Linked DNA regions of Homo sapiens: regions 2, 3, 4 and 5 are each linked to region 1. Evidence: promoter capture Hi-C in 16 types of primary human blood cells and fetal thymus (Javierre and others, 2016). All regions are on one chromosome and are shown on one strand. Each heading gives the region's core, a stretch centred on a gene start or on the middle of the fragment in contact. The rest is flanking DNA. Distances are from core to core; before and after follow the strand shown.

What was found. The method cuts DNA at HindIII sites, captures the fragments that hold promoters and counts their contacts. A CHiCAGO score of 5 or more calls a contact.
Region 2: a fragment that was not itself captured here is called in contact with the fragment with the promoter of KPNA1 in region 1 in 5 of 17 cell types (naive CD4 T cells, naive CD8 T cells, total CD4 T cells and 2 more); the score reaches 8.9 in naive CD4 T cells.
Region 3: a contact is called between a fragment that was not itself captured here and the fragment with the promoter of KPNA1 in region 1, in 1 of 17 cell types (total CD8 T cells). The highest score is 6.3, in total CD8 T cells.
Region 4: a contact is called between a fragment that was not itself captured here and the fragment with the promoter of KPNA1 in region 1, in 4 of 17 cell types (naive CD4 T cells, fetal thymus, total CD8 T cells and 1 more). The highest score is 7.5, in naive CD4 T cells.
Region 5: a contact is called between a fragment that was not itself captured here and the fragment with the promoter of KPNA1 in region 1, in 1 of 17 cell types (monocytes). The highest score is 5.2, in monocytes.

The regions. Positions count from the first base shown.
Region 1 is chr3:122,512,591-122,518,797 of GRCh38, reverse strand. It overlaps KPNA1 (karyopherin subunit alpha 1), which reads left to right and starts at 3,859. Exons shown (of 14, transcript NM_002264.4): 1 at 3,859-4,041. LOC107984000 (a long non-coding RNA gene) reads right to left here and starts at 3,769. Exons shown (of 2, transcript XR_924403.3): 1 at 3,670-3,769; 2 at 1,440-1,773. RefSeq lists a silencer at 3,892-4,581. The HindIII fragment of the contact is 3,104 bases long and covers 3,470-6,207 here.
Region 2 is chr3:121,716,322-121,722,528 of GRCh38, reverse strand. GOLGB1 (golgin B1) reads left to right here. Exons shown (of 22, transcript NM_001366282.2): 6 at 151-267; 7 at 2,761-2,883; 8 at 4,028-4,141; 9 at 5,390-5,792. Among named protein-coding and RNA genes, the nearest start is that of GOLGB1, 30 kb to the left of the region's middle. The HindIII fragment of the contact is 852 bases long and covers 3,202-4,053 here.
Region 3 is chr3:121,734,573-121,740,779 of GRCh38, reverse strand. All of the region lies in intron 1 of GOLGB1 (golgin B1), which reads left to right. Among named protein-coding and RNA genes, the nearest start is that of GOLGB1, 12 kb to the left of the region's middle. The HindIII fragment of the contact is 8,358 bases long and covers 1-6,207 here.
Region 4 is chr3:123,202,214-123,208,420 of GRCh38, reverse strand. All of the region lies in intron 1 of SEC22A (SEC22 homolog A, vesicle trafficking protein), which reads right to left. Among named protein-coding and RNA genes, the nearest start is that of SEC22A, 3.4 kb to the right of the region's middle. The HindIII fragment of the contact is 3,731 bases long and covers 1,127-4,857 here.
Region 5 is chr3:121,827,035-121,833,241 of GRCh38, reverse strand. It overlaps IQCB1 (IQ motif containing B1), which reads left to right. Exons shown (of 15, transcript NM_001023570.4): 3 at 4,270-4,381; 4 at 4,610-4,772. The coding sequence starts at 4,282. Among named protein-coding and RNA genes, the nearest start is that of IQCB1, 4.9 kb to the left of the region's middle. The HindIII fragment of the contact is 3,950 bases long and covers 1,027-4,976 here.

The DNA of each region.
Region 1 (6,207 bases), core at 2,610-5,109:
AAAAAAGTATCCAGAAAAAGGCAAATTAAACAGAACTTTCTGGATTTCTTTACTACAGCTGTAAACTTACTTGAAATCTAACTTCAATTTTATAAGCTCAATTTTTTTGTTGTTGTTTTGCTGAAGAGTTAGAAGTGCATAAACCATTTTCTCTGGGGAAATGAGGTTTAACTGAGGATGACATCCAATGTGCTTCAGAGTGTTTAAAAATGATAGTCATTTCACATATGGAAAGCCTACATGGTTAATTTATAGATGCACAGGACATGACTGATAGACAAACAGCAGGTTTACCTGAATATACAAAGTGGATGGACCTTTCGGAGAGCTGGAAACGAATTCCTACAAGTTTAAAAATGTGCTGTGCTAGTAAATAAAATCCTAAGTATTTTGTGCTCCAACAATTTTGTTTATAGAATATTTAGCTTTATGTTTTTACTTTGACAACAGAAGCAGTGTAATGTAGGCAGAGGAGCAAAGCTGCAAGTCAAAATTAGTTTTATGTTTGACTGTATTCAGTTTTACTATCACACAAAAGAAAAGAAAAACGTCCTAAAGATCCCAAGTAGTTCAGAAAAGTACTAATGGAAAAGGAAACAGAAAGAATAAAAATATCTCAAGCTATCATGGGACAGAAAGAAATATGTCATTATTTTTTATTTAATATAGGTAATATCTATCTCATTAGTTCTATTGTATACATTCTTTAAAAAATTCTTACACTTATTTATCTCAAGAATATAGGATGATATAGCCTACAAAATTCAAATATGCAATAGAGCTAAATTGCTATACCAGAGGAAAGAAAGAAACCTTATGAAATTGTTGCATTTTTCTCATACATATTATTTGCTTAATTAGTCTCTCTATTTATTACTACTAGTTGCTTTTTTTTTTTTTTTTTTGAGACAATATCTTGCTCTGCCACCCACGCTGAAGTGCAGTGGTGTGCTCAGACTCCTGGTCTCAAGTGATCCTCCCACCTCAGTCTCCTGAATAGCTGGGATTACAGGTGCGACTCACCATGCCCGACTAATTTTTTTGTGTGTTGAGATGGGGGTCTTGCTATGTTGCCCAGGCTGGTCTGGAACTCCTGGGTTCAAGTGATCCTCCTGCCTCAGCCTCCCAAAGTGCTGGGATTACAGGCATGAGCCACTGTTCCCAGCCTGCTATTTTATTTAATTGCATTTATGCAACAGAAAAGAAATACAACAGAATGCATAATTCTAAGTAAATATCTATTTTTCATGTTTTTATGTTCAAGTAATTTATATGTTAGATTGGCAAAAATTTAAAAAGCCAGACATTTCTAACTGTTAGCAAGTGAAGAGTATCTTATATACCGTTTCTAGAGTACAAATTGGTACAATCACTTTATGAAATAATCCAGCAATGTCTAGTGTATTAGTTTTCTATTGTATAATAAATTACCATAAACATAGTATCTTAAGACACATTTATTATCTCACAGTTTCTGTAGACCAGGAGTCTACGCACAGTTTATCTGTTTTCTTTGCTCAGGGTCTCACAAAACTGCTATCAAGGTTTAAGTCAGGCTGTCTTCTCATCTGGAGGCCACCTCTCAGGTTGTTGGCAGAATTCATTTCCTTGTGGTTGTGTGACTGAGGGCCCTGGCTTCTTACTGGTTGTCAGCTGCAGGCTGCGCTCAAGTTCTAGAAGCCGTCTGCAGTTCCCTGCCATTTAGTTTTCTCCATAGGCAGTTCGCAACATGACAGCTTGCTTCTTCAAGGCCAGCGAATCTCTAGCTCCAGTCTGGAAAGACAGTCTTATATAATGAAACGGAATCATGGGAGTGACATTCTATCACCTTTGCCATATTCTGTTGGCTAGAAGTAAGTCAAAGGTCCCACCTACACTCAAGGGGTGGAGATTATATAGGCAACACCAGGGACCAGAGATTATGGGGGCCATCTTAGATTTCTGCCTGATACATATAGTAAGGTTAAAGATGCAATGTCCTAGGATCTAGCAGTTTCCCTATACACAGTAGAGATGTACAAGAATGTTCACAGCAGCATTGTTTGTGACAGTAAAAAATACTGTTCTATACTTTCAAATTTCTCAAACTATAAAATGATATTGTCAGAGAGACAGTAGCTTATAAAACACCATGTATGGTATGATAACATTTTTGTAAAAGTAACATACATAGGAATTCAACTTCCAGCAATGGCCTACTGTTGTTTTCAATCAACCTTTCCACTACAGAGAACAACTGAACAAAATATAAAAACGTTAATGTACTGAAGAGCTACCAAGGAAGTGAGAATTTGTGAGTGCAAGGTCTGGAAGAAAAAGGAAGCCACCAGAGGTTAGCCTGATATTTGCCATCATTTTTCCAAAGCTAAGGTGATTGCTGACTCTGAAAGCAGTGGCTGAAACAGGGAGAAGAGCTTATGGCTGTCTCATGGGGCTTAGAAGGCCCACCAAAGAGAAGAGGCCCTAGTAAATACCCCAGACTTTTGGATGGGACCATCAAGGACTAGCTAGGAATAAGGGTGAACCGGAAATAAATTAGCTTTCCCAAAGACTGAAGACCGGCTCTGAATAATCAGTCTTAGTTCCTTATTGGAATAAGGTGATCTGTCTTCAGTCTAGCTGTGGTCAGGCAAACTTGCCCTTAAGTCTCTCCTGTTGAACACACCTTCCCTTTCCCCAGCCCCCTTGCTCAAACTCAACTCTGATCTTAGTAAACACAACATCAGCGGGAGAATGCTGATGCAGCAGAGAGAAGTCCAGGACAAATGAACATTGCATAACCTAGGATTCAGGTAGAGTGGTCCTCTCTCCTCTCCTCTTCCCTGGGACATTTATAAATGTATTAATCTACCTCATCTCTTTCACCTTGCTTCTTGGCATGTGTTTTAAATCTGTCTACTATTCCGTGATCCCTGCTAGGCTGGCTTCAGTTTTTCTTCTTTTGAAGCCACTACTCCATTTGCTCCCCCAAAGAATTCCATGAAATTTAACATTAGCAATCATTTGCTCCAAGTTTTCGTTTGAGAGCAGTTGAGAGTAAAACGAGTATGTGTTTCATGTAGTTTCATTATTATTATTATTATTATTGTTATTATTATTTTTGAGGCAGGGTCTCACTCCGGTTGCCCAGGCTGGAGTGTAGTGGCGCGATCTCGGCTCACTGCAGTCTCACCGTCAACCCCGGGCTCAGGTGATTCTCCCACCTCAGCCTCCCGAGTAGCTGGGACTTCAGGCGCCCGTCACCACCCCCTGCTAATTTTTGTGTTTTTAGTAGAGACGGGGTTTCGCCATGTTGCCCAGGCTAGTCTCAAAACTCCTAGCCTCAAGTGATCCACCCACCTCGGCCTCCCAAGGTGCTGGGATTACAGGTGTGAGCCACCGCGCCCGGCCCTTAATTATTTTTGATACTACGCATACGTTATCAAGCAAAGGGGATGGGAGATAACTAAAAAAGGAATGTCCAGAAGCTTCCTGCATTCATGCTGCATGTGAGCCCTTTAGACACGAGGCGCTGACCTACTAATTTTGTAATACTCCCTCAGCCTTCAATCATTCCATCATTCATTCCATCAACGCGTATTAGGTACTTAGAAGCTATACAGAGGTGAGCATCGATCCGCCCTGGAAGAGCTTAGCAAAGACAGGTTTGTACATATAACTTTCTCCAACCTTTGCCATGGTCTGCAAACCTCCTTCTTAGCGAGACCCCCTCCCCGACCCCCGACTCTTCACAGGCTGGGCGCTAACCATTAGGAATGTCCGGCGAGAGAGCGTTACAAGACTACGTCTCCCGGCAGCCTCTGCGACAAGCGCCGGAGGGGCGCGCGTAGGCGCTCGGGCCGGCCCCCGCACGCAGGCGCACTGCGAACGCCGGCTGAGCTGAGTCTCGCTGCTCGGTGCGAGGCGGCGGAGAGCGAGGCCTGGTGAGCACCGCCGAGGCGCGGGCCAGCTCTTCGAGGTTGTGCGCGGGAGTGGCACGGCGGGCGGGCGAGCGAGGGGCTAACTTCAGCGGTGGCACCGGGATCGGTTGCCTTGAGCCTGGTGAGTGCTGGGGCCTTGCGGCCCCGGCCCCTCCCCCTCCCGCCGGCAGATCCGGGCAGTCCCGGAGGGACTCAGGAGAGGCCCTGGGGCGAGGGCGGGTGCCGGCAGGGCCTAGAGCCGGGGTTCCTGGGCCGGACGCTCGCGCCGCGTCCGTGCGTCACGGGCCCGGCTGTCCTAACGGCCACAAGGCCGGCGGAGGAGAGGGTGGGGGTGGGGAGCCCTGGTGTGATCGCCATCGGGAACGCCGGTCGAGGCTAGGCGGGGCGGGGCGGCGTGGCGCGGCGGCGGGGCTGTAAGCGGCGCCGGGGACTGCGGGGCGCCGAGGCAGCGGGCGGAGAGGAGGCGAGCGCGGAGCCTGCGCCGCGGCCGGGCGGCGGGCGGGAGGCGGGGGTGGGCCGCGCAGAGCGCTGTGACAGAGGCAGGAAGGAGCAGGGGTGGCGTGTAAAAATTCTAACCCTGGCAAAAAGGGACCGTCTTGGGAATTCACAAGTTACAGACCGGGTCGGAGCCGGCGGCCCGGAGGGAGGTGGGGGAAGCGGGGGGTGGAGACGGCCGGCTGCAGTTTACCGATGTCATAACAACATGGGCCTGGAGCGGCTGATCGGGGGTGTGGTAATTATAGCAATGACAGAACTTGGTCTGCACGCCGCGTGTGCGATGCGAGGGAAGCAGCGAGGTATCGGATTAAGCTCAAAACGGGAGGAGGAAACAAGGATGACTGGAGTCAAGGAAGTCGTCATGAAGTAATGTTTTAGGATTGGGTCGTGTTCCACTTTTAAATGAAAGCGTTCAAAATATTTGATTTTTAAGGTTTCAACTCAGAACAAACGATTGCCGAGTTTTTGTTTGTATTTTAAAGAGATGGGGTCTCGCTATATTGCCCAGGCTGTACTCCAACTCCTGAGCTCAAACTGTCCTCTTGCCTCAGCTTCCCAAGTAGCTGGGACTAGTCTTGGGCAACCACACCCAGCTCTGCAGAGTATTTTTTTTTCTGAAACGTACTGTCAAGTAATATTAACTTGAATTTCACCCTTTTTTCTTAAATAAACGGTTGCTTAAAAATCTCTATTAGTAGATGAAGTGATTTCCCCCCTCCTGTTTTGTTTTTTTTTTTCTTAAGAGATGGAGTCTTGCTTTGTTTCCCGGGCTGATCTGGAACTCCTGGCCTCAAGGCATCCTCCCTACTAGCTGGAACTACAGGCGGATGCCACCAGCAAGGCTCATTCTCGACATTGTTTTTGTCTTAACTAGCTTTTGCATTTGTAATATTTTGAAAGCAGTACACAAGTTATTTTTCCCTCCTTTTTAAAGATCAAAGAGATGAAAATTTAATTTTTCAAAGGAAAGTAAGAATGAGTTCTGTTGTATTTTTACTGAAATATTCTTGGAAGACACTGTTTTATGGATAGATGAGACGTAAGAGAAAGTAAAGGAATTAACATTTATTGAGTTCTTTTTTCAGGTATTGTGTTAAATGCTTTACATATATTAAAAACATTTGAATCTGAAGTATCTGTTAATTTTTCTATTTTACAGATGAAAGCATTGACAATCAAATGTTAAGTAACTTACCTAAGGTCTTCCAGTTCTTGTTGAGAACAACCTTAGAACCCAAAGTTACTGCCATTTAAATTATTTCTCTCCTTTCATACTTTTTCGTTGTTTTCTTTATTTAATCCGTTCAATCAGCGAATACTTACAGAGTGATCTTCTAGACTTGGGGGGATATAGTCGCGATCAAAACTCACTGTCCCTGTTCTCATGGAATTTATAGTGTAGCAGGGAAAGCTAATATTACAAATATTGACTGCATAACATTTTGTCAGTTATTATAGTTGAGTAGCAACTGTAAAGCACTCTACTAAATAGTAAAGGCAGTTCAAATGGAAGCAGACAACATAAGCCTTGAGGAGTTTACAGTCCTGTAGGGCAACAAAACATACATTTATGAAAACCTAGAATAAACTAAATTAGAAAGGTATCACCTGAAATCACTATACTTGCATTATGGTATTTTTTATTTTATTTATTTATTTTTTTGGATGCTTGCTCTGTTGCCCAGGCTGGGCAGTGACGCGATCTCGGCTTACTGCAGCCTCTGCCTCCCTGGTTCAAGCAGTTCTCCTGCCTGAGACTGCCTGAGTAGCTGGGACTACAGGGGCATGA
Region 2 (6,207 bases), core at 2,378-4,877, 800 kb after region 1:
ATGCATGCAATTTCCTTTTGGGTTCAATGGAAACTAGAAGGAAATATGGTAGGCATTTAGGTTAAGCAAGAAAGGGAGGTCAAAGAATTAATAATGCTCATTCTTTTGCTTAAATAATTTTTTTTCCTTCTATGTCTTCGGTTTGATAAGAGTTCTACAGAGATGGAAGAATTTGTAATGATGAAGCAACAGCTCCAGGAGAAGGAAGAATTCATTAGCACTTTACAAGCCCAGCTCAGCCAGACACAGGCAGAGCAAGCTGCACAGGTAGGGACCTCACAAAATTAGGATAAAGAGCTATGAAGTCCAGTGGGTTATTACGCACAAGTCAATTCAGTGAGTCACTTTAAAAAATCCTAGTAGATAAAAGTATAGTAGCATGGGTGTTGCACTAGAAATTAGAAGGATATGTAGTAGAAGAGATTAGGAGATGTGTGGTAGGTAAGTGTGTCATTAGGGAACACCAGAAAACCTCACAATGTGTTATTTACCTTGATGAATTTTCTATAGCCTAATTGATGACTGTTTCTTAGTTCTGCATGTCCAGAAACTTAATTTTAATAGCAGACAGAGATTCAGTCTTTTGGGAATGGACTCATGCTGAGTTCAAAAGAGACCAATAAGTAAACCAAAAGAAATAAAAATAATTAGGTTCATTCTTTCCCAAAATAATATCTATCTTAATAGGAAATAAATTATAGTTAGATTACTTAGTGAGCCTGTAATGAGAAAGTGGTGTAGGTCATGTGATTTTATGTTAAATGGCACCAGTATGTGACATTCTTCTTCCCATTTTTTTCATCTGTCAAGACCAGACCATTTGGATTGGCATCCTCAACTTTTTCTATTTTTCTAGGTTTCTTGGTTGGCCACGCACTCCCACATATTTATTTTTGAAATTGGGTCTCACTCTGTTGCCCAAGCTGGAGTACAAGTGGTACAATCATAGCTCACTGCAGCCTCAGTCTCCTGGGCTCAAGCCATCCTCTCACTCACCTCAGCTTCCCAAGTAGCTGGGACTACAGGCATGTGCCACTGCATCTGGCTAAATTTTTTACATTTTTTGAAGAGACAGGTTCTCAATATGTTGCCCAGGCAGGCCTTGCACTCCTGAGTTCAAGTGATCCTCACACCTCGGCCTCCCAAAGTGCTGGGATTACAGGCACTGTAATTTTTTTTGGGGGGTGGGGGCAGCGGTGGGGGAATGCTTATGAATCATGAAAGATTTTTTTCCCTGAAGTACCTTTGTACATAGCTAATTATCCATTAGGTGTTTACTTTATTAATAATTTGTAGTATTAGTAGTGCCTTCTCTCTGTGGTTGGCCTACTGCTATGTATACAGTTAAAATTGTATATCCTGAAATTCTTGGTTTTACCTATTAGCTTTTATTGTGTCCTTTTTAAATTTTTTATTTATTTTTTATTGTGTCCTTTTTATGTATAAGCACTATATACAGTGCAGGATGAAGAAATACAAAATATGGTTTTTAACCTATGTGTTGCTAAAATATGGAAAGCCAAGATACATACATGTGTTAAGAGATTCATCGTAATTTAAGGCTTTCCGAATAAGTGCCAAAGCAAGCAGCAATACAAACAAAATATTTTGGAAGGCGAAAGAGGTTACTGTGAGTTTGACAGTTAAGGAAAATTACACGGAAAAGTTGGGATTTAGGCAAAACCATGATATATAGATAATATTCCAGACAAGCTGGGGGAGATATTTCAGTGATGGGGAACGGTGTGAGCAAAACTGCAGAGAAGGAAAAGAATATGGAACAGTTATGGGAAAGGAGTTAGAGATGTTTGGCTAATGAAAGACTCCAGTGCCTACACACTTGAAACACAAGAGTCCAAATTCCTAGTGAGGTCACAATTCAGATAATAAAAACATTCTGAGGATTTGTTTTTCTCCTACCAAAAAAGAAAGCCAAAGTTTGATTCAAGGTGTCACAAACTGAGATATCAGCAGTAAAGGACCAATGCAAAATAGGCAAGCTAACAGCTAAGCAGCATGCTCCACCATAGATCTTAAGGAGATGAATAAGCAGATGCACACACTCACAACCTAAAAACAAGACAGAAGCACTGATACTGAGCAGCTCACCATCAGTCCATTTATTTCCATTTCATTCTGTTCAGAGCCAGTTAAAAATGAGCATGATCTAGAAGGCTGCAAGTAATGACAGCTGAAAACAGCTGTCTGGGGAGGTGGTGTGGATTTAGAAGCACATGAGGTTCTTTGGTAGAAGCAATTCTTTGAAAATAAGACTAGAAAGATAGATTGGTATTTCCAGTTGTAGAGAATCTTGAATAAATGATATGTTAGTTTGAATTTTCATTTATAGGGCATGAGAATTTTACTGAAAGCTTTTCAGCCATGAGCAAGAAGTGTCCAGGGTTTAATAGAAATCTAACTTAACTTCACCTTATGTGTTTAATATCTTAATCTTTTTAGAACTTTAAAAAATACACTTCTTGTATATTTAAAACATTTCTAGTAACCATGAACATATAATTTTTGATCAAAATTTATGTTTAGGCTAACTTCTGAATTTGAAAATAGGCTTTCTCTCGCATTTCATAGTTACTGTCCAGCCTATCTCTCTTCCAACATCCTCATCCTTGACAATCAAAATTTCACTTTAAAAAGCTACTATCAAGTCTCAGTGTCTGTCTTGGAAAGTAGTCTGTGAGTTTTATTTGTGCAATATTCGGGGAGTGTAACTTGCATAGTTTCTCTGGTATGTGTCTTCAGTTGAGTTCCATGCAGCAGGTGGTCCGAGAGAAAGATGCCCGCTTTGAAACACAAGTTCGTCTTCATGAAGATGAGCTTCTTCAGTTAGTAACCCAGGCAGATGTGGAAACAGAGATGCAACAGGTGTGTTGCTAAAACTCGGTAGAATGACTGTCATTTTGGTTAATATTTAATCCATCACAGCCAATTTCCTACCCTTACCCACTGCTCTTCACTTGGTGTTAGTGTTTTCCTTATTGGCCTCTTTTGTGTCCTTGTCTTCTGTTGCATAAAAATTATTTATTTTTTCTTATCCTTTTCTTGCCTTTTACCCCTCTAATCAGGTTGTTGGTGCTCAAAAGCTGAGTTTAGTTGGTGAATTTATGTGGTAGTCAAAAATTGGTTTCTCTTCAGTTTTCTGATTATAGCTACCTTTGTGCATTACACACCTAACCCAAAGCTTCAAATCAATGAAGTCAGTTTTAAATATTTAAAAAATTAGAGAAGACAAAGAATGATTTTGAAGACATGAAGTCTTTTATTAGATCAGTAATTCTTTTTTAAAAAAATTTGAGTAGATTTTGAAAATTGGCTTCATTGTATTTGAGTTCACCATCTACTAACTCAAAGTATTTTATTTCACTTAGTGTGTAGTGCATTGTGGTACTGAAAGGCACTTCAGTGATACTTTATGTTTGATCTGTTTAATTAGATTGAAAATTAATTAGAATTAATTAGAACGGAAACTTTTAAGTTCTAAGCAATCTTTCAGAATGCACCACTAAATAAAGTTTTAGAATACAACATATTATTAAGTAGAATACTAATTGTATATGTGTATCATTGCTTTATTTATTCAACAATTTTTTTTCAAGTGCCTGCCCAGTGCATGAAACTAGGAGAAGAGAAATGATTCTTGCCTGCAGAGAATGTTCTCTTGGGTGGGTAAGATGTACATGTACCTATGCTATCTAGGTACAGGTTATTAACTGTATGATTTTGAAGGCAGATATGTGTTATTGTTTTTTCTAATTTTTAAAGAGACTCCCTAATTCAGGGACTTGCTTGTGTCTGGGTCTGGTTGTTGTTGGTGCTCTGGAGAAGACATTTTGGAGACTCTTCGTTGCTGCTGGATGGGGGGAGCATGGCATGCTGGTCTCCCACTCTTTAAACTGTCATTTTCAACACCCCAAAATTTAAGTATACAAATCTACATGACATTTTGAAAGATAAGCAAATACAAGCACTCATTTGTTAGCATATTATGTCTAAAATGTTTTCTTCTCAGAAATTGAGGGTGCTGCAAAGGAAGCTTGAGGAACACGAAGAATCCTTGGTGGGCCGTGCTCAGGTCGTTGACTTGCTGCAACAGGAGCTGACTGCTGCTGAGCAGAGAAACCAGGTACTGCCTTTTAATCTTTACTTCCTGCCTTGGAGGGTATTCATTTCCACTTTCGTTTGCCAGGCAGTAGATATAAAAGCCTATTTAAAGTCTTCAGAGAATTGATGCCATTTATTCATTCTTTCAACAAATACCTCGTACTTAAGTGGTGGGGATGCAGTACAATTATGAGCAAAACTAAATACAGTTCTTTCCCTCATGGAGCATACATTGCACTTCTTTATTGTTGCTCTTTCCCTTTGCCATTTTAGATCTAGGGTCCTAGTTTATCTAGAATGTCATACAGATTGAGTATGCCTAATCTGAAAATCCAAAATGCTGCAAAATCTGAAATTTTCTGAGCACCAACATGACACCACAAGTGGAAAATGCCACAACTGACCTTGTGGAACAGGGTAACAGATCAAAGGCAAATATGCACAAAATCATTTAAAATACTGTATAAAATTATCTTTAGGCTATGTGTATACGATGTATATGAAACAAATGAATTTCATGTTTAGACTTGCGTCCTATCCCAAGATATCCAAGATATTCCACCATCTGAAAAAAATGGAAAACTAAAATACTTCTGGTCCCAAGCATTTAGAATAAGGGATACTTGACCTGTATTATCCTTTAGTGAGTTTCTTTTTCATCAGTTACTCTTCTCTGTCTTGAATGGTTTTTGTGCTTTATGTACAGCCCATCTTTTCTTGTTTTTGTAAATTGACCTTCTGTTAGATTGAAATGATCTCGTTCTGCAATATTCTCTTGAGTATGAAGGTAATCAGTAATGCTGATCTGACTATAATCCATCCTGCCATTTTCTTTCTCATATTGTCCTGATCTTCATTCTCATTGAATTCCATTGAATTCCACTTTGCTTCTCTAGTATGTTAATTCTTCCTTACCCTTGCTCCTTTCTGTGTCCTATATGGACCCATGCTTGACAGTTTGAACTACCTTTTTTCTACCCCTTGGATTCCTTGTGTTCCTATCCTGTCACATCCAAGTAGTCTCATCATAATGCAGAATTGGTGCTATAGTCCACATTCTCTGTTTGTTTTTCTGGGTGCCTGTGTGCTGCTGGGGAGTCAGCCATCTCCTCTCTTCTTAATTTTCAACTCTCCTTCTTGAGAAGGGCTTTCTCTCTAGCATAGAAACATGTTCCCATTTTTTTCCATCCTATAAGAAAAAGCACTTTACAATGCTTGTTGAAATGAAATAATGTATTTATGGCTCATGAGACTTTGTCTTTTTTCTTAGATTCTCTCTCAGCAGTTACAGCAGATGGAAGCTGAGCATAATACTTTGAGGAACACTGTGGAAACAGAAAGAGAGGAGTCCAAGATTCTACTGGAAAAGATGGAACTTGAAGTGGCAGAGAGAAAATTATCCTTCCATAATCTGCAGGAAGAAATGCATCATCTTTTAGAACAGTTTGAGCAAGCAGGCCAAGCCCAGGCTGAACTAGAGTCTCGGTATAGTGCTTTGGAGCAGAAGCACAAAGCAGAAATGGAAGAGAAGACCTCTCATATTTTGAGTCTTCAAAAGACTGGACAAGAGCTGCAGTCTGCCTGTGATGCTCTAAAGGATCAAAATTCAAAGCTTCTCCAAGATAAGAATGAGCAAGCAGTTCAGTCAGCCCAGACCATTCAGCAACTGGAAGGTCAGTAGCTGATTGCTTTTGAAGTCCACATCTCTACCATCTGAGTGGCTTGTATTTCATATTTTCAGGGATCTGTTAATGAAATCTGTACTCAAACCAATTGAACCAATAGAAGGACTGAGAAAAACAGCTCTTCTGAACTTCTTGATGCATTTTTCTTGCCTCTGACTGGCTATAATCTTTCTTAATATTATAATTATCATTACAATACTAAAAATGTGATAGTGATGTTCCAGATATTAAATAGAATGCTATGTTAAATATGACTGATCTGAAGGATTCAATGACTGAAACGAGAAGGATTTGAATTAGTTTTTGGAAAACTCAGGCCAGATCTAGGTGCATAGGTTAGGAGACTAAATTGCATGGAGTTATCCATAAATCTGAAGAAGGATGGATCTCAGTGCTTTTCTTA
Region 3 (6,207 bases), core at 1,756-4,255, 780 kb after region 1:
TGCTTTTCTTCTTCAGGGAATCCTGTTATTCACATTACTTATCTTCAATATTTATCTGTTTCTCGCAAATCCTATGTAACTCTTAATTTCTTACATTTTTTAAAAATAAACAAATTATTAGGAATTATTTCAGATCACTACAGAAAGTTTACTACAGAAAATTTGCAAAGATAGTGCAGAAGTCTGGTGTATCCTTTGCTTAGTATTCCCTAAGATTAACATGTGACATTAGCAGTGTACAAAATTAAGAAACCAACATTGGTACATTAATATTAACTGAACTCCAGACGTTGTTCACATTTCACCAGTTTCTCCATTAATGTCCATTTTCTGTTCCAGGATTCAATTCAGGATATCATGTTGCATTTAGTTCATTTCTTTTTCATTTGTTTTTTAAATATGAAGACAATTGTAGAGTCACATGCAGTTGTAGGAAATAATCAGAGCTCTTTTATACACTTTGTTGTTTCTTCCAGTGGTAACATTTTGCAAAACTAATACATAATATCACAATTAGGATATTGAGATAGATATATTCCCCAGTTTTACTTGTATATTCATTTGTATATGTATGTATGTGTATCATTAAGTTTTGCAGTGTTATATCACCTGTGTAGGTTCCTGTATCCACTGCCACAGTCAAGATATTGAACAGCTGCAACACCACAAGGATCCCTTGTGTTGCCTTGTTATGACCACAGTCACTTCCCACCCCAACCCCTCTCTAACCACTGGTAATCACTCATCTTTCCTCCATTTCTAAAATTTTGTCATTTCAAAAATGTTATAGAAGTATGGAATTGTATAATATGTAACCTTTTGGGACTGGCTTTTTTTCATTCAATGTAATTTTCTGGAGATCCATCTAAGTTGTTGGGTCCATCAGTAGTTCGTTGCTTTTTATTTCTGAGAAGTATGTGATGGGATGTATGTACCAGTTTGTTTAACCATTTGCCTGTATATATCAGTTTGCTTAACCGTCTATTAATAGAAATAAAGCTGCTATGAATGTTTATATACAGCAGGTTCTCTTGTGAACTTAAGTTTTCTTTTCTCTAAGATAAATGCTGGGGAGTGGAATTGAGGGTCATAAGGTAGTTGCATATCTAGTTTTTTAGGTCATTTCTTTTTGATTTTTAAAATTATCCTTCATTTCAACTTTGCTTTTTTTTAATGACATGGTTTGTTATATTTACTCATTTTCTTGTTCCTTCTAGTTTCATCTTCATTTCCAAAATGATTTTTTAAATTTTTCAGTCACTTCTTGTTTTCACTTTATTTCTGGGTTTTTCTATTTCTGATGTTTATTTTTTCACATCTTATGTCATTTTTAATGCCTTTTAGTTCCTTCAGTAGATTTAAGTGGTTATAGTTTTGAACTGTTTTTTTGAGCATGGCTCTCTGACGTGCTTCCATTTTCTGTCGGGATGTTATCATGATCGTTTTCCTCCTTTTTTTTCTTCTAGTAATGTATCTGAATTGTGAGACTTTTCAGTTGCTCTTTTTTTCTTTTTTGTGACAGGGTCTTACTCTATCACCCAGGCTGGAGTGTAGGGGTGTGATTATGGCTCACTGCAGCCTCCACCTCTTGGGCTCAAGCAGTCTTCCCACGTCAGCCACCTGAATAGCTGGACCTACATGCATGTGCCACCATGCCTGGCTGACTTTTTAAAAAAATTTTGTAGAGATGGGATCTTGCTATGTTGCTCAGGCTAGTCTTGAACTCCTAGGCTCAAGTGATCCTCCCACCTCAGCCTCCCAAAGTGCTAGGATTACAGGATGAGCTAGCACGCCTGGCCTCAGTAGTTCATTTTTAATATGAATTTAGTGTTGCTGAACTTTTAGAAAGAGATTTTATACAGCTTTTCTAACTTGATAAGGTTTCCTCTTGTGCTATTTTCAGACATTGTTCAACTATATGGCAGCTGGATTTCTCGGATTTCCTGCCTTTCTTTCCTTGCCACTTTCACCTGCTCTTTATCTGGACCTCCTCTTTCCTTAGTCACTTAATTTTAATTCTCCTCTCAGCAGATTCTCCTCAGTGTGGGACCCTATCCTGGAAGAGAGCCCCAACTCTTCAGTTCTGAGAATTAATAAAGGTCCAGACTGCCTCAGCTCTTTCAGCCCTCGTAGGCCCCTGGCAGGTACCTGTTATTGGAATGGGAAGACCCCTCCTTGTATCAACTACTGTTCTGTAATTGGCTTGGCGCATTTGCCAGTGAATGCCCACTGGCTCTTTTGAGGTCCTCTTGGTGTTGTACTCCTCTGGCTTCCCTCAATTTCCTCCCAGTTGAACACCAGTGACACCCAGATCTTTTGACTATTGGCGGTTTGTCTATATCCACGTTTATTTTGGGGTTTGTAGGAAACTTTGTTAAGTAGTTTTTTGGTAAAGGCTGTCCATGGATCTTTTGTTACCTAGTTGCTTTGTCTGTTTTTATGTGGGAATAAAGGAAGATACAAAATCCATGGGGCCCCTTGCTACTCCCATCTTCTCAGAATCCCATCAGTTGGTTATTTTGTTTTCTTTGTTCCAAAGTGGTCTGAAAAATCTGAAGATAAAGTGATTCTGTTTGATAAGTTAGGTTCCATTATGATTTTCTTTGATTAGCAGAAATCTATATGTTTAAGAAACTCTTTAGTGATGGTATTCATTTCCTTCATTAAAAGTTAACCAAAGAAAATATGATCTCTAAAGTTGAAAAGAAAGTTTAGAATCTGTATACTGCTGAATTGTGATTTTTTAATCCTGACTATAGCTGTGGTTCTCATATCTTGAATAAATAGTTATATATGGCCCTATGTACTCATGTATGACACTGTGTTGCCCTTCCAGTATTTAGATATGAAGTTATATATGATCCTGCGCTGCCTTCCTAGGGAACAGTTCACTTTTTCTATTTCTGTCTCACGTATCTTTTCCAAGTGATGTGCTACTTAGATTACCCAAGACAATCTATTAAAAAAACAGGTATCTCTCATCACTTCTTTCTTAAGAACCATGGCTGCCCTAAACACTATTATTATCCCCAGTAGAAGAAAACTGTAGCAGAGCCTAGTTTCATTTAAGTGTTTATTTTGTACAATAGTTTTTATATTTCTTCTTGCTGAGGTTTTTTTTTTTTTTTGAGACGCGGTCTTGCTCTGTTGCCCAGGCTGGAGTGCAGTGGTGCGAATCTTGGCTCACTGCAACCTCCACCTCTCAGGTTCAAGTGATTCGTCTGCCTCAGCCTCCTGAGTAGCTGGGATTACAGGCACGTGCCACCACACCCGGCTAATTTTTGTATTTTTAGTAGAGACGGGATTTCACCATGTTGGTCAGACTGGTCTCAAACTCCTGACCTCGTGATCCACCCGCCTCAGCCTCCCAAAGTGCTGGGATTACAGGCATGAGCCACCACGCCCGGCCCCTGCTGAGGGTTTTAAAAGCCAAATAACATTTTATCACAAAATGTAAAATTAGGCATAATCACGTAAACTAATGCTATGCATAGTCCAGTTCTATTTTGATTTTTCCTATCAAAGCATTAATATGCTTCTCATTTTCATGGACTTTATGGACTAGCAGTTGACACTGATCTGAATATGTAGCCTACACAGTGGTTATAAAAGTAAATTGATTTTGGAATAACCTTAGATTTACATACAACTTGGGAAGATTAGACAGACAGTTATTGTATACACAAAGCATCCTCTAATGTTAGCATTTTACACAACCATGGTAGCTTTTTCAAAACAGAGAACATAGGTGCAATGCCATAAACTAAACTATAGGTAGACTTCATTCAGATTTCACCATTTTTTCCAGTAATGTCCTTATTGTGTTTCAGAACCTAATCCAGGATACTGCCTTGCGTTTATTTATTTATTTATTTAGAGGCAGGGTCTCACTCTGGCACCCAGGCTGGAGTGCAGTGGTGCGATCTCAGCTCACTGCAACCTCTGTCTCCCAGGTTCAAGTGATTCTCCCATCTCAGACTACCCAATAGCTGGGACTACAGGTGCATGCCACCACACCCGGCTAATTTTTGTATTTTTTAGTAGAGACGGAGTTTCACCATGTTGGCCAGGCTGGTCTCGAACTACTGACCTCAAGTGATCTGCCTGCCTCGGCCTCCCAAAGTGCCAGGATTACAGGCGTGAGACACTGTGCCCGGCCTACTTTGCATTTAATCAGCATGTCTCCTTGTCTTCTCTAATCTGTGACTGTTTCTTAGTTTTTTGTTGTTTTTCATTACTTTGACAGTTTTGAAGAGTATTGGTCAGGTATTTTTAGAATGTCCCTGAATCTAGGTTTTCCCAGTGTTTTCTCATGATTAGACTGGGCTTACGGGTTTTGCAGAAGAATACCCCAGAGGTAAAGTACCCTTCTCATCACATTATATCAGGGGTTACATGATATTACGATGACTTATCACTGGTGATGTTAATCTTGATCACTTGGTTGAGGTGGTGGTTGCCAAGTCTCACCACTCTGATGTTGCTGTTTTTCTTTTTTCATATTCTATTCTTTGGAAGTGAGTCACTAGGTCCAGCCTATACTGAAGGAGAGGGAATTAAGCTCCATTTTTAGAGGGGGACGTATCTACATAAATTATTTGGAATTCTTTTGTAAGGAAGATTTGTCTCTACCATTAATTTATTTAATGATTTATTTATATCAGTATTGACTGATGGGTATTTAATTTTTTATTTGGGTTATAATCCATATAATCCAATATTATTGTTATTTATTCTGTGACTCAAATTATTCTAGCCTTGATCATTGGGAGCTCCTTCAGATTGGCTCCTGGTCACATACCCCATTTTTTTTCTTTTTCTTTTTTGAACACTTCCTTACTTTCTGGCTCTCTGCCCCAACCCTAGATAGGCAGCCATTTCTCCAAGGAGCCCTAGTTCCTTTTATTGGAGATTGGCAATTTAGAAATCGAGATCTGGATGCGCTCATTGCTACTGAGGTGTTACTGTTTCTAGGACTTTTCAGTGGACACGGCTAGAATATATATTTCTCTGTAATAACTGATTATTTATAATGCATACATATCTATACTTATTTCTGCATTTATCTATTTACATATATATTAAAATAAACATGAGTTCATACTGATATCTCTGACTCTAATCCAGTACCATGGGGTTTATCCTAGCTTTCTTGCCTTATTTGTAACTTCTTTCACTGACAGTAAAAAACCTGAATCTCATTATCTACAATTTACTTACTCATTTAACCCTAGTGTACAATGAAGTAGTTTCAGAATTGCTAACCCATACCACTGTGAGAAAGAAATTTACCAAGCAGAGTACAGTGTTTATGTCAGTTCTTTTTGTCTTTATCCTTATAGTACCCAGTCAAAACACCATTTTTGTTTCTTAGGTTAGCCCCATCTCCTTCAGTGAGGTTATATCATATATTTATAATATAGTTAGATCTATTTGTCACAGTCTGCATTCCATTTTTGGAACTCCTGACATCCTGGCTGAGGTTTTAAAAAAATTGTATACAATTATGTTTGCTCTTTGGAATGTACAGTTCAGTGAGTTTTGACAAATGCATATGGTTATGAATTTACTACTTCAAGATCATACAGAACAGTTCCTTCACCTTAAAAATTCCCTTGTGTTGCTCTTTTATATTCAGCCACATCTCCTTCCCTCAAGCCCTGACAACTATATTTGTGTGGGTTAATTTCTGGACTTGTTCAAAATGTTATATAAATAGAATAATATGATGTATATCTTTTAATGTTTAGCTTATTCCATGTAGCAAAAGGCATTTTAGGTTTAAGTATTGTGTTGTGTGAATCAATTGTTCATTCTTTTGCTGAGTAGTATTCCATTGTTTGGATGTGCTACAGTTTGTTATTCATTCACTTGTTGAGGGATATCTTGGCTATTTTCAGAATCTGTGATTATGAGTAAACCTACTATAAACTTGGTTAGATGCCTAGGAGTGGGATTGGTAAATGTACGTTTAACTTTTAAAGAAACTGTCAAACAGTTTTCCGAAGTAGCTGTGCCATTTTGTATTCTAATCTGCAGGCATTGAAAGTTCCTGTTGCTCTATATCCCTGCCAGCATTAAAAAATACATATTTTAGCAATTCTAATAGGTAGATAGTGGTATTTCATTTTGCTTTTAATGAGTATTTTCCTAATGCCAGATTAACTTAAGCATCTTTTCATATATTTATTTACCATCCATCTATCT
Region 4 (6,207 bases), core at 1,743-4,242, 690 kb before region 1:
CAAGAGTCTGAAGGCATACCTTTTAACCTCAATAAATTTAAATATATACCTGTCTTGAGAAAAATAATCAGAAATCCAGGCAAAATTTTAAACAGAAAGACATTCTTCCACTCAAATAACTGAAAGCAATCTAAATATCCTATAAAATGGTGATGGTTAAGTAAATTATAGTATATTCATATAACAGAATATAATGCAGCAACTAAAAGTTATGTTTGTGGAGAAAGTTTAATAATGTGGTAAAATGCTTACATGTTAAGGAGAAAAAAGTAGGATAAAAATTGCAAATGTTGTTTTACACAAACATAAGGATAAAGAGACGAAGATAAAGAGAAGGAAAAAGGGATTGAAAAACGGATGCAGAAAAAGATGCCAAATTAAGAATATGCTCACCTCTAAGAAATGGTATTATTGGTTATTATTATTTTATAATTTCCTAAATGTTCTCAATATTCACAGTAGACATATACTACTTTTATAATCAGAAAAAAATTATTTAAAATAAATCCTAAAGCTAAAGGAATATTGGTTTTAATGTTGTTCTCAATCTTTTTACCAGAAAGTAAATCTTAATGGCCTATTTTATTGGATTCTCTTCTTGCTTTACAAAAACAGATGAAAGGACTTCACAGGCCTGAGTCTGAAGGAACTCAGGTCAACAGTCACTCAACCTTTCATAAAATACACAGTGGCTCTCAAACTTTAGCTTGCATAAGAAGTTGAAAGTTTAGTTAAAAATGCAGATTTCTGAGCTCTGCCCTCAAAATTCTGAACCACTGACTGTGGGATAGGGCTTGACAATTTGCTTATTGTCTAAGGCCCATACTTTTTAAAACATTAAATTAAAACATGTTCACTATCTAAGATTAAGTGATAACTCTTCTCTGTCAGGCCATCAAAGCACAATGTCACTAAAGGCTTCCTCACTAGTGGTGAGGCAACTGGTGAAAATTCAAAAATCTGATAAAAATCTCACAGGCATTTTTCCAAAAATATTGTATCTTAGAGACTAAATTAATCCTTACCTGCCCACTTAATCTAGGTCAATATTATCTCATTCCAAAAAGGAAAAAATGAGTAATATATATAAAAAAAAATACCACAGAAAACCAGTTGTTACAAAGCTTGTAAATCAGGAGCTGATAGTTTTCACTGCTGTGTGAAGTCAAAATATGACTTCCCATTCATGGTGATAACTGATCTGACAATAAAAATTAACCCAACTAATAAATCTAATGCATTAAGTTCACTATCCCTTTTTCCTCTTTTCATGAGGAAAAAGGAGAAATCTCTAGGTGTTACTGTGTCATTACCCTTTAATATTTTTCTCCTTCAGAGACAGGGTCTCACTGTGTCACCCAGACGAGTGTAGTGGTGCGATCTCAGTTCACTGCAACCTCCACCTCCCAGATTCAAGCAATTCTCATGCCTCAGCCTCGCGAGTAGCTAGGATTACAGGCATGCGCCACAACACCCAGCTCATTTTTGTATTTTCAGTAGAGATGAGGTTTCGCCATGTTGGCCAGGCTGGTCTCAAACTCCTGGCCTGAAGTGATCTGTCCACCTCAGCCTCCCAAAGTACTAGGATTACAGGCATGAGCTACCACGCCCAGCCTCTCCATTCATTTAAAGAGAAAAATATCCAGAAGCAAATTAGTCTTTTTACTACAGTGGAGTCTTCAAACTGAAGTCCCAGTGTGACATATCCCAATTGGTGTTTTTTTCCATTCATCTAGTTTTTTTCTCTCCTAAAAGCAGTAGCATGAAAAAGTTGGGATCCCTGAAGAGATATCTATACTATAAACCCCTCTTTAATTTTTTTTTTACCATGTTTTACTTAATTATTAAATCACAATTGTAACATTTAGCCTAAGTGTAAGAAAGTAGGAAAATGTCTTACTCTATCCCCTTAAGCGTTTATTATTTAACTATAAAACTGTTGTCTTTCCAGAAGTACACTGCAACACAATAACCATTCTGGGAATTAATTTGAGGGTGAGTTGTAACTTGCAGTTCTAAATACCCACATTTTAGTATTTAAAAGCAGATTGGATGGGGTGCCATGGCTTATACCCATAATCCCAACACTGCTTGAGGCCAGGAGTTCAAGACCAACCTAGAAACATGGTGAGGCTCTGTCTCTATAAAAAAAATTAAAAATCAGCTGGGCATGGTGGCACACGCCTATAGTACTTGCTTTGGGGAGGCTGAAGCAGGCCCAGGAGTTCAAGGCAATGGTGAGCTATGATTGTGCCACTGCAGTCCAACCTGGGTGATGAGAGAGATCCTGTCTCAAAAAGTAAAATAAAAGTAGACTGTATTATTTTATGTCTGGCCTCTCTAGGATCCTAATAGAAATATTATGAATAGACTTCATTAATAGGTTGCCAAATTTCATGTAGTCTTCAAAGTTATTCTTTAGTGACTTGGAGGACAGATCAATAAATATATGATCCATGCTTTCTAAAACACATACTGTAAAAAGAATACAATTTGTAAGTTCCATTCGTTTACCAAACATTTACTGAATATCTAATGTGTCCCATGAATTATGCCAGATAGCAGGAATGAAGAGTCCTACCATCAAGAAACATCACTCCTCAATTAGAGAAACTCAGTTGAAAAGAGCAAACAATGCAGGTGTGTTGCCCACCACTTCACTAACTGGAAAACTAAAGTTGGACAAACTTACATTTCAAATACTCCTTTTTTTGTTGTTTTTTTGTTTTGTTTTGTTTTGTTTTGAAACAGGGTCTCACTCTGTTGCCCAGGCTGGAGTGCAATGGCTCACTGCAACCTCTGCCTCCCAGGTTCAAGCGATTCCCCTGCCTCATCCTGCCAAGTAGCTGGGATTACAGGTGCCCGCCACCATGCCTGGCTAATTTTTGTATTTTTAGTAGAGATGGGGCTTAACTGTGTTGGCCAGGCTGGTCTCAAATTCTGACCTCAAGTGATCCACCTGCGTCGGCCTCACAAAGTGCTGGGATTACAGGTGTGAGCCACTGCGCCCAGCCTCAAATTTTCCTAATATGTACTTTAGCCTTTAACCAAAAGCAGAACACAGTAGTTACATTCCCTGTCAAAATTATTACAAGGTTGTCAGAGAATGGTTTCTACTTATCCATAGATAAGATTTTTCTTAGGGAAAAAATTAAACCTCTTTCTACCACAGTAATTTGATTCAGCATCCAAAGCACTTGAATTTAAGCCTGACAAACGGGGATGAATGTCCAATGATCAACGTCAGGCTTAACTAATTTGTAGACAGATTCCAACCACCTTAGGCTAAGCTGTCTCTCCATCAATTCAATAAACATACCCCTACTTTTTTTCTTTTTACCACGGATTCATAATATAGTTTGTTTTTTTTTAAACTAATCTTATCTGGACTGTGCTAGCAGAAAAGGAAATCTGTCCATGTCAGGCCTAAGCTAGGTTAAAGTATCTTTAAGGTCTTAAGGAGGGTTGTGGTTGGGAAAATCCCAAGGAAGAACCAGTGGAACTGTGGAAAGCAAGAGATTACAACAATTGCATGGGAAGATTTAGGAGTTTTTAGCTTATCGGGGCCATAGATAAATGTTTAGGGCACTGGGCCATTTCTCCTCACCTTTAATACAGAGAAAATATTACACCTGCCTTTGTACAGCAGCAGTTAACTCACAGGGAACCTGAATAGTGGCTATTTTTTCCTCTCCCCATCAGCAACTGTTGGAGGAAAAAGCACAAGCTAGAATCTAGGTAAATCTGGGTAAACTTTTATGTAAAGGCTGAGGAAAATAAATTCCCACAATGCCAAACTACTATAGTAGTGGTTAGCAAGTTCCTGGACCCAAGATAATAAGACACCCCTCTTCTTCAGAACCTTGTAGGGGTAATGACTACAGGCTCAATGTCTCAGGAAGTTATCTCTCAAAAGGTAATAAACAAAGCCCAACATGTAAGTGGATTTTGTATATACGTTCTAACCAAATGCTTTCACAAATGCCACTTTTAAGATAAAAACATTTTATACTGGGGGCAAAAGCACTCATATTTATTTTAGTTCATAACTTCCCAGTCTTCAGTCATCCAAGTACCACTTTCAGAATTATCTTCATCCACCTGTACTATTTACCTAATATTGGTCTTTGAATTGACTTACTTTTCTTGTCCTTTATTTTTTAGCAATAATATCTGTGAAATCAGTTTTGAGATGTTAAGTTTTTCTCCTAATTTAAATTAAATGAACTTGTTTCATTCAAATATGTATGTGTGTGAAAATTTGGGGAGAATTTTTTAATGTTCATTTGCTTATCAAATTATCTTGCATATGTGACAGTACCAAAGTTTGGGAAACAATACCAATATGGTACATATTATTTTATTAAAAGTGCTCGCTGAGGGTGGGGGATAGAGTGGGTGATAAAGGGGATGGAATTTCCGCCATTTTGCCTATGCCTTCTACCTCACTAGCAGTGTTCGACATTCCTATTATGGGTGCTTGCACTGCACAGTATGTATAAGACCTCAGGCTTCACAACAGATTTTACCCACATCTAGGACAGGGCCCCCAATACATGCTCAAATGTGTCAATCCCAACATTTTTATAGTGCCACATAGTTCACGGTTGGGTAGGTAAAACCACCATTTTACAGATGAGGAAACTAAGGCTCACTTTCTCAATGTCACACTGCTAGTATATAGCAGAACTGGTACTTCGGTCTAAGTTTCTAGTATCTCTACATCACTATGCTTCATCAGTCTCCCAAAACCAACAAGACACAAGAAACCAGGGATATAGAAACTATCTATTCACTTGCTGCCTGGGTTCTAATCCTGGCTCCACCATCTACCAGCCATGTAAATTTGGACAAGCTTTGCCTTTCTATATCTCAATTTCCACATCTATATATTGTGGCTACTAATAGCATCTATCTCATAGGCTTGTTTTAAAGATGACAATAGTATCTATCTCATAGGATCATGTAAAGTGCCTGAAACATTGCCTTGTAACATGCTAAAAGCACTACATTAAATATTTGCTGTATTATTTATTGATTACTCTCCATGGACCACGCACTTTATACACATTACCTCATTTAAGCGTTCCAAAAACCTGTGAGATAGGTATTATTAGTTCCATTTTACCTTTGAGGAAATTCAAGCCCAGAAAGCTTGAGGAATTTTTTTTAATCCCTAAACGAGTAGGTGACAAAGTAGGGATTTAAACTCAGGCCCAATTCTAACAACTCTGTGAGACACTCAAGGAAGGTCACAGGCACCCCTGTGATAAGACCTAGGCCTCTTTCATATACCAACATAAGATATACTTCGATTTTAACCAGTTGCACGCAAAAAAAAAAAAAAAAAAAAAAAAAAAAAAAAAAGGCACTAAACAGATGTGATGGTTTTCAACATAGGAAATACCCGAATGTCCCATTACTTTAGGATATGGTCACAGGTGTCAGAGTCAAATACTGAATGAACCTTAATATATCAGAAATTGTAGGTACCGTTTAAGGCATTGCCTGATTCCTTACAATCTTAGCATGTAAGCAAATATCAGTAACATGGAAAGTGATTCAGAGTTTGAAAAGTGGCTGTTCCCCTGACTGAAGATCCCAACATCTCCAGTCTGGTGGCTGATACTTTTGCTCTGGGCTAGGCTTTGCCTTGGCTGAATAGGCATAGGAGGGACTGGTTCTCAAGCTCGCCCCCTGCCCCAGGTGGATGATCCAGGAAACTAAGCAGCAGGGAAAAATTATCTTAAGCTGTCTTCACTGGCAGAGAGATTCAAGCCAGCTGGGGCTTGTCCTTTTCTTTTGGAAGCCTCCTCCACTTGCCGAGCCAATTGCTCAGGTCTCCCTTCTGCCACATCGTTCCCAAAGTGACTCTTGAGACAGGGTCTCAAGAGATTTCCGTGAGCCAACGCGGGCAAATATCTGGGCTCAGGGCTCACTCCATCCCCACAAAACGTAAAGTAAGACACTGGTTCAAGTCCCATTCTGCCTAAAAGAAATAGGAAATGCCACCTCAAGCTCTCATGGGCCACCTACACAGGTAGATCACCGTGTTTCTGACACCTGGGCGCCAGGGAATCCCCACCACCATGCTGACAGCCAAGTGCGACTGTCCCTCCCCTTCAAACACTCCTTTCCTGGCTGCCCAACACCCGAGGCGGCTCAGACGAGGCGCAACCGCCGCCCGCCTGGCCCCAGAGAACCCTC
Region 5 (6,207 bases), core at 1,752-4,251, 680 kb after region 1:
AGCAAAGATGGTCTTAAAATGTAGTATGATGGTAGAACTGGGCTTTAATAATAACCATTTGGAGAGCTCTTACTATGTGCCAGGAATTGTTCCAATTGCTTTCATGTATTAACTCATTTAATCATCTCTAAGGGATAGGTAGGTTGCCCTCATGAAGCTTACCTTCTGAGGTGAATTTTCTCCAAACATATATTAAAATGAACTATGTTGTACTAGCTCAAGAATAGACAAACAGATTAAATTACTAGAAACTAAGTAGAGTCCAAAAAGATACCCTGTGTATGTGTATGTATACATAGTGCATGAAAATGTGACGTTTCAGATTGTTTCTGTTATGTCTATTCATAACTAGTTACCTTATGAATTTATGACTACTGTGTGCATTTTTTAATCCATCAATAACTTTAACATTAAAAATTAGATTCTTATATGACACCATTCACAAAAATACCTTACTTTAGAAGATATGTAAGGAAAACAAAACCAAAAAAACATGAAGATTTGGAGAATGTTTTTTATCTCTTGGGTTAGAGAGGACCTTTCTAAACAGGACACAAAAGACAGATGCCATAGAGGAAAAGATTGTTATATTTCATATGTAAAAATTGTAAAAATGGCTGGGCGCTGTGGCTCATGCCTGTAATCCCAGCACTTTGGGAGGCCGAAGTGGGCAGACCACTTGAGGTCATGAGTTCAAGACCAGCCTGGCCAACATGGTGAAACCCCATCTCTACTAAAAATACAAAAATTAGCTGGGCACGTTGGCACACGCCTGTAATCCCAGCTACTTGGGAGGCTGAGGCATGAAATCACTTGAACCCAGGAGGTGGAGGATGCAGTGAGCTGAGATTGCACCACTGCACTGCAGCCAGGGTAAACAGAGTCAGACTCTCTCTCAAAAAAAAAAAAAAAAATTGTAAAATTATGGTAAAGACCCCATAGTCAAATTTAAAAAAATAAATGACAAGGAGAAAATTTTACAGCCAATATAAAAGAGAAAAGATTCCTATCCATGTATGAAAAGCTTCTGCAAAAGAATAAGACAAACCGATAGAAATATAGTCAAGGGATATGAATAGAAAATACATAAAAGAAATAATGGCCAGTGAACACGAAATGTGCCTGACATCCCTAATAATCAAAGAAATACAAATTAAAACACAATCATACCAATTTTCATCTAACAGATTGGCAAAAATGTAAAGGATCATGTGTATATTCATTGCAGTGTTGCTTGTAATAGCATACAGCTTGAGTGACCTCCAGTAGAGGTGATGTTTAAATATATTTTGCTGCATTCTTAAAAGGAAATGTAGCATAATGCAGCCATTTGGAGAGAATGAGATAACTATATGCACTCTCTTTGAAAGTTTTGTGACTACTATGTGCCGGGAGTTGCACTGGGCTTTCTTTAAGGTATTTTCAGCAAACCTGTCTTTTAATGATTTATATTGTACCTAATAAGAGATATATGAATGGAAAAACAGTTTTTGCTCTCACATCATGACAATCAACACAAAAGACTTCTGTGACCAAATGTGTGGAGTTTTCTTCCACCAACAAGCAAGCAATCAATTCTGCAGCGGACACCAGCTGGGTATCATCTAATTCAATTCTGACACTGTCTACTTGGAGATAGGGTCAGATCCCTTAGGTTTAGGGCTTAGTCCTGCAAGAGGGACCCCCATTTCTGATGCCAATCCAAGCCCTAAGTTGTTTTACCTGTGCTTCTGACTGACCAGCTACACATGAGGAATCCTATTAATACACACCTTGGGGTGTATTAATTTGCTAGAGGAGCTAACAAAACTGAGGGAAACATGTTTTCCAGTTTATTATAAAGATATTACAGAGACCCTGGGCAACATGGAGAAACCCTGTCTCTACTAAAAATACAAAAAATTAGCCGAGCGTCATGGCTTGCAAGTGTAGTCCCAGCTACTTGGGAGGCTGAGGTGGGAGAATCACCTGAACCTGAGAAGTCTAGGCTGCAGTGAGCCATAATTGTACCATTGTCCTCCAGCCTGGGCAACAGGAGTGAGATCCTGTCTCCAAAAAAAAATACTAGGATACAAATGAAGAGATGCATACTGTGAAGTATGGGAAGGGGCACAGAGCTTCCATGTCCTCCCTGCCTGTGATATCCAGGAAATTCCTCCAGGAACTTCCACATGTTCAGCTATCCAGTAGCTCTTTGTACCCCATCCTCTTGAGCCTTTTATGGAGATTTCAATGGATAGGCATGACTGAAGCATGGACAATCATTTTGGAAATGTGATTGGACAAAAAAGATATGATCTGATACTAACAGACTGAGTGGGGAAACCCAGCAAGGCCTGTCTGCTCAGATTCTTCTTGGCTTCTCTGTTCAGCATTCCTTCCAGGATATAGGGCAAGACCCATTCTGAAACAGGGGTCTTATGACCTACAGCTAGACAAGATAGGTCAGAGAAAGGCAGGGATGATTAGAGTTCTGCTTTGGAGAGAAGGAGCAGGTGAAAGGAGGAGAGGAGGAAGTCAGAAATAGATTCTGTTTTCTGAGGCCTAAAGCACCCTAACATAACAAGACTGTAACAAAGGCTATGGGAGTTATGAGCCAGAAACTGTGGACAAAAACATATATATGTATATGTATATATGTATGTATGGAAATGATCACACGCTCTATCTACTTCATAGCCCTGTTGTGAGGATTACACAAGACAGTGTATAGTATATTAACATAGTGCTTAGCTTATATTAAACAGTTGATACATGTTAGCTTTACTATAAATAAGGAAATACGCTTTTATTATATAAGGATATCTTTGAGCTTCAAATGCTTTAAAACTTTTTTTTTTTAGAGACAGGGTCTTGCTTTGTTGACCAGGCTAGTCTTGAACACCAATTCTCAAGCGATTCTTCAGCCTTAAACTTTTTTTACATAGAGAAAGTTTTAGCAACAAATTAGGATGTGGACCTTGTTTTTTAATGTTAGGAGAATTGATTTTATTCAATATACTATTTACTTATTTATTAATTATTATTATTATTATTTTGAGACAGAGTCTAGCTCTGTCACTCAGGCTGGAGTGCAGTGATGTGATCTCAGGTCACTCAACCTCCACCTCCTAGGTTCAAGCTATTCTGCCTCAGCCTCCTGAGTAACTGGGATTACAGGCACGCGCCACCATGCCCAGCTGATTTTTTGTATTCTTAGTAGAAATGGGGTTTCACCATGTTGGCCAGGCTGGTCTTGAACTCCTGACCGCAAGTGATTCACCCACCTTGGCCTCCCAAAGTGCTGGGATTATAGGTGTGAGCCACTGCCCCTGGCCTTATTCACTATACTATTTAGAAGCAATCTTTGATTATCTTATATTTATGTAACATTTCTGAGCATTAGTGTGTTGAAGGTCAGTGCTTCACTAGGAGGGCTCACAGGACTCAGAATATAGTGTACTTACAGCTATGATTTATTACAGTGAAGGGAAATAAAGCAAAATCAGCAAAGGGAAAAAGCATATTGGGGGAAATCAGGTACAAACTTCTGAGTTCTCTCCCAGTGGAGTTACGTAGGATATGCTTAATTCCTCCAGCAACCAGCTATGACAACATGTTTGAAGTGTTGTCTACCAAGGAAGCTCAACTAGACACTCAGTGATCAGAATTTTTATTGGAGGATGGCCACATAGGCACCCTCTGTATAGGTACTCTCGACTGGCATGTACCAGAATTCTAAGACTCCTGGAAGGAAGGCGGGTATTCAGCATGAACCACATTGTTTTTCATAAACAGTTTTAGGCACAGGGAGCCACTCTTACCAGAGAATGGCAGAAACCCTCCTGAAATCTAAGTTCTAGATGCCAGTCAAAGGCCAACCTTGTAAGCACACCTTTGAAAGTATAGTAGTCTTAGGCCTGTCATGTTAGCTCTTTTTTGCAGTTCTTCTTGTGTGATTAAAGGAAGTTAATTCCTATCCTAGAATTATTGTGCAGATTAGAGAGAGAATGTGAAGCTCCTATCACAGTTCCTGACTCTTAGTGAGTGCACAATAAACAATACCTGCTATAGCTGTTACATGTGAGGTATAGGAATCTTGAGCTCTTTTACACTGGTTAGAAAAACCAGTTTTCTATAAGGAAGAAATGAAAAAATCTACATTCTGCCTCTCAAACAAGGCAAGAAAAGCTGTTTTTATTTATATTGAAATTATATTTCAAACATTATTTAGGTAGTGAACATTTCCTGGCTTTTTGACCTTTATTCTCTGATTCTGTTAAAATATAGGTAATAAGAGAAATGAAGCCAACAGGTACAGACCCAAGGATCTTATCTATAGCTGCTGAAGTTGCAAAAAGCCCTGAGCAGAATGTCCCTGTTATACTGTTGAAGTTAAAAGGTAAGAAAATCTTTTTGTGATTAGATAGCATTTTAAGTGAAAAATGGTTCCATCGTTGGTACAATTTTAACATTTCTTTTAAATTTGTTCAGAGAGGTCTTAACACTATAATAGAACAGTAATTTTTCCTTCTAATATATTTTTAGTGATTATTCAACATATAAAAATACAAATAGCTCCTGGATGTATTAAGCAAAAATAAATATATCTTATTTCCTTTTGCCTTAGAAATAATAAACATCACACCTTTAGGAAGCTCAGAGTTGAAGAAAATCAAACAAGATATATATTGTTATGATCTCATTCAATATTGCCTCTTGGTCCTCAGTCAAGATTATTCTCGAATCCAGGGTGGTTGGACTACAATTTCCCAGCTTACACAGATATTAAGGTAAAATAAAGCAGTAAGTCAGCTGTTCTTGAGGGATGTAGTAGTTGATTCTGATTTTCAACATTTGCTTTTTATTTATCTGCCTAACAAGCATTGGCAACCTCCTGTTGTAGGTTTTGGTTGTACTTTTCCTTCATATTATATGTTATTATTCATAATTTTACTTCAGATTATTTGACTGTCTAAAATTTTCCTCCACAAGCTTAATGAAGATGGTGATCATTTTTTTTCTCACCACTGAATTCCAAGTGCCTAATATACTTTTTATTGATTAAGGAATTTTTAAAGAAGTGAAGAAATTAAGGCACTGGCTCTGTACCTGAGAAACTTAAAATAGAGATTGGGTGACAGTCATGTAAGTATATGATACAAAGCAGAATGAAATCAGTGCTAAAATGAAAGTATGCAAGCAAGTACTATAGGAGAACTGATAAAGAAACATTTTATTTCACTATATCAATGTAGCTATCAACTGTGTATTTCATTAAGCAACCCAAATACTGTCAATAAAATTTAGAAGTAGAATTTACTGATCTACTGCCATGCTAGAAATTAATAGAAGAGAAATAAACATTTTTTAAAGGAGGTAGTAAAATAAACCAGATGTTCTTAGTGCCTAAGCTACTTCCTGATTAATAAGTGAAAGTGTGTATTTACTAACTGGATCCTAGCCTTCTTTTTTTGTTTTTCCTAAATAAGCCATTTGAATTTAATAAGCTATTCCCACTGAAAGGGTTTGTCTTGGATGCTAGATTTCTAAGCTGCTTAATCCTACTGTGTTACTTGGTAAAGGCCAAATTTAAAGCACACAGTTACAAAGAACAGTTGAAAAATATATGTGATATTCTTTTTCATACTTTAATTTTCAAGATTGATTTTCTTAAGTAAATAAAGCCTTATGTTTTTGTTTTGATTCGATATGCTAGTTTATGATGATATTGATTAAGCCAGGCTCTCGGGTGGAATTCAAGACTTAAGAAATTCCCATGTTTCTGAATGCACAAATAAACATAATTTCATTTGTTAATCTTCTCAATCAAAAAAGATACTCTTAAGTAATTAACTTTAGGAACCAAAGAGAAAAGAAAAGCTGATACATGTGAGCATTAGCCCATTAACTTTAGGAACCCAGGTGCAAATAAACAACAACAACAACAAAAAGTGATACATGTAAATATTATCCACTTAGGTTTTTTTTTAACTTTTATTTTAGGTTCAGGGGTACATGTGGAGGTTTGTTTTATAGGTAAATTGCATACTCAATGTTTGTTCTCACTTATAAGTGAGAATATGCAGTGTTTGGCTTTCTGTTCTTGTGTTAGTTCACTTAGGTTAATGGCCTTCAGCTCCATCCATGTTGCTGCAAAGGACATGATCTTGTTCTTTTTTATGGCTGCATAGTATTCCATGGTGTATATGTACCACCCCAAAGAAA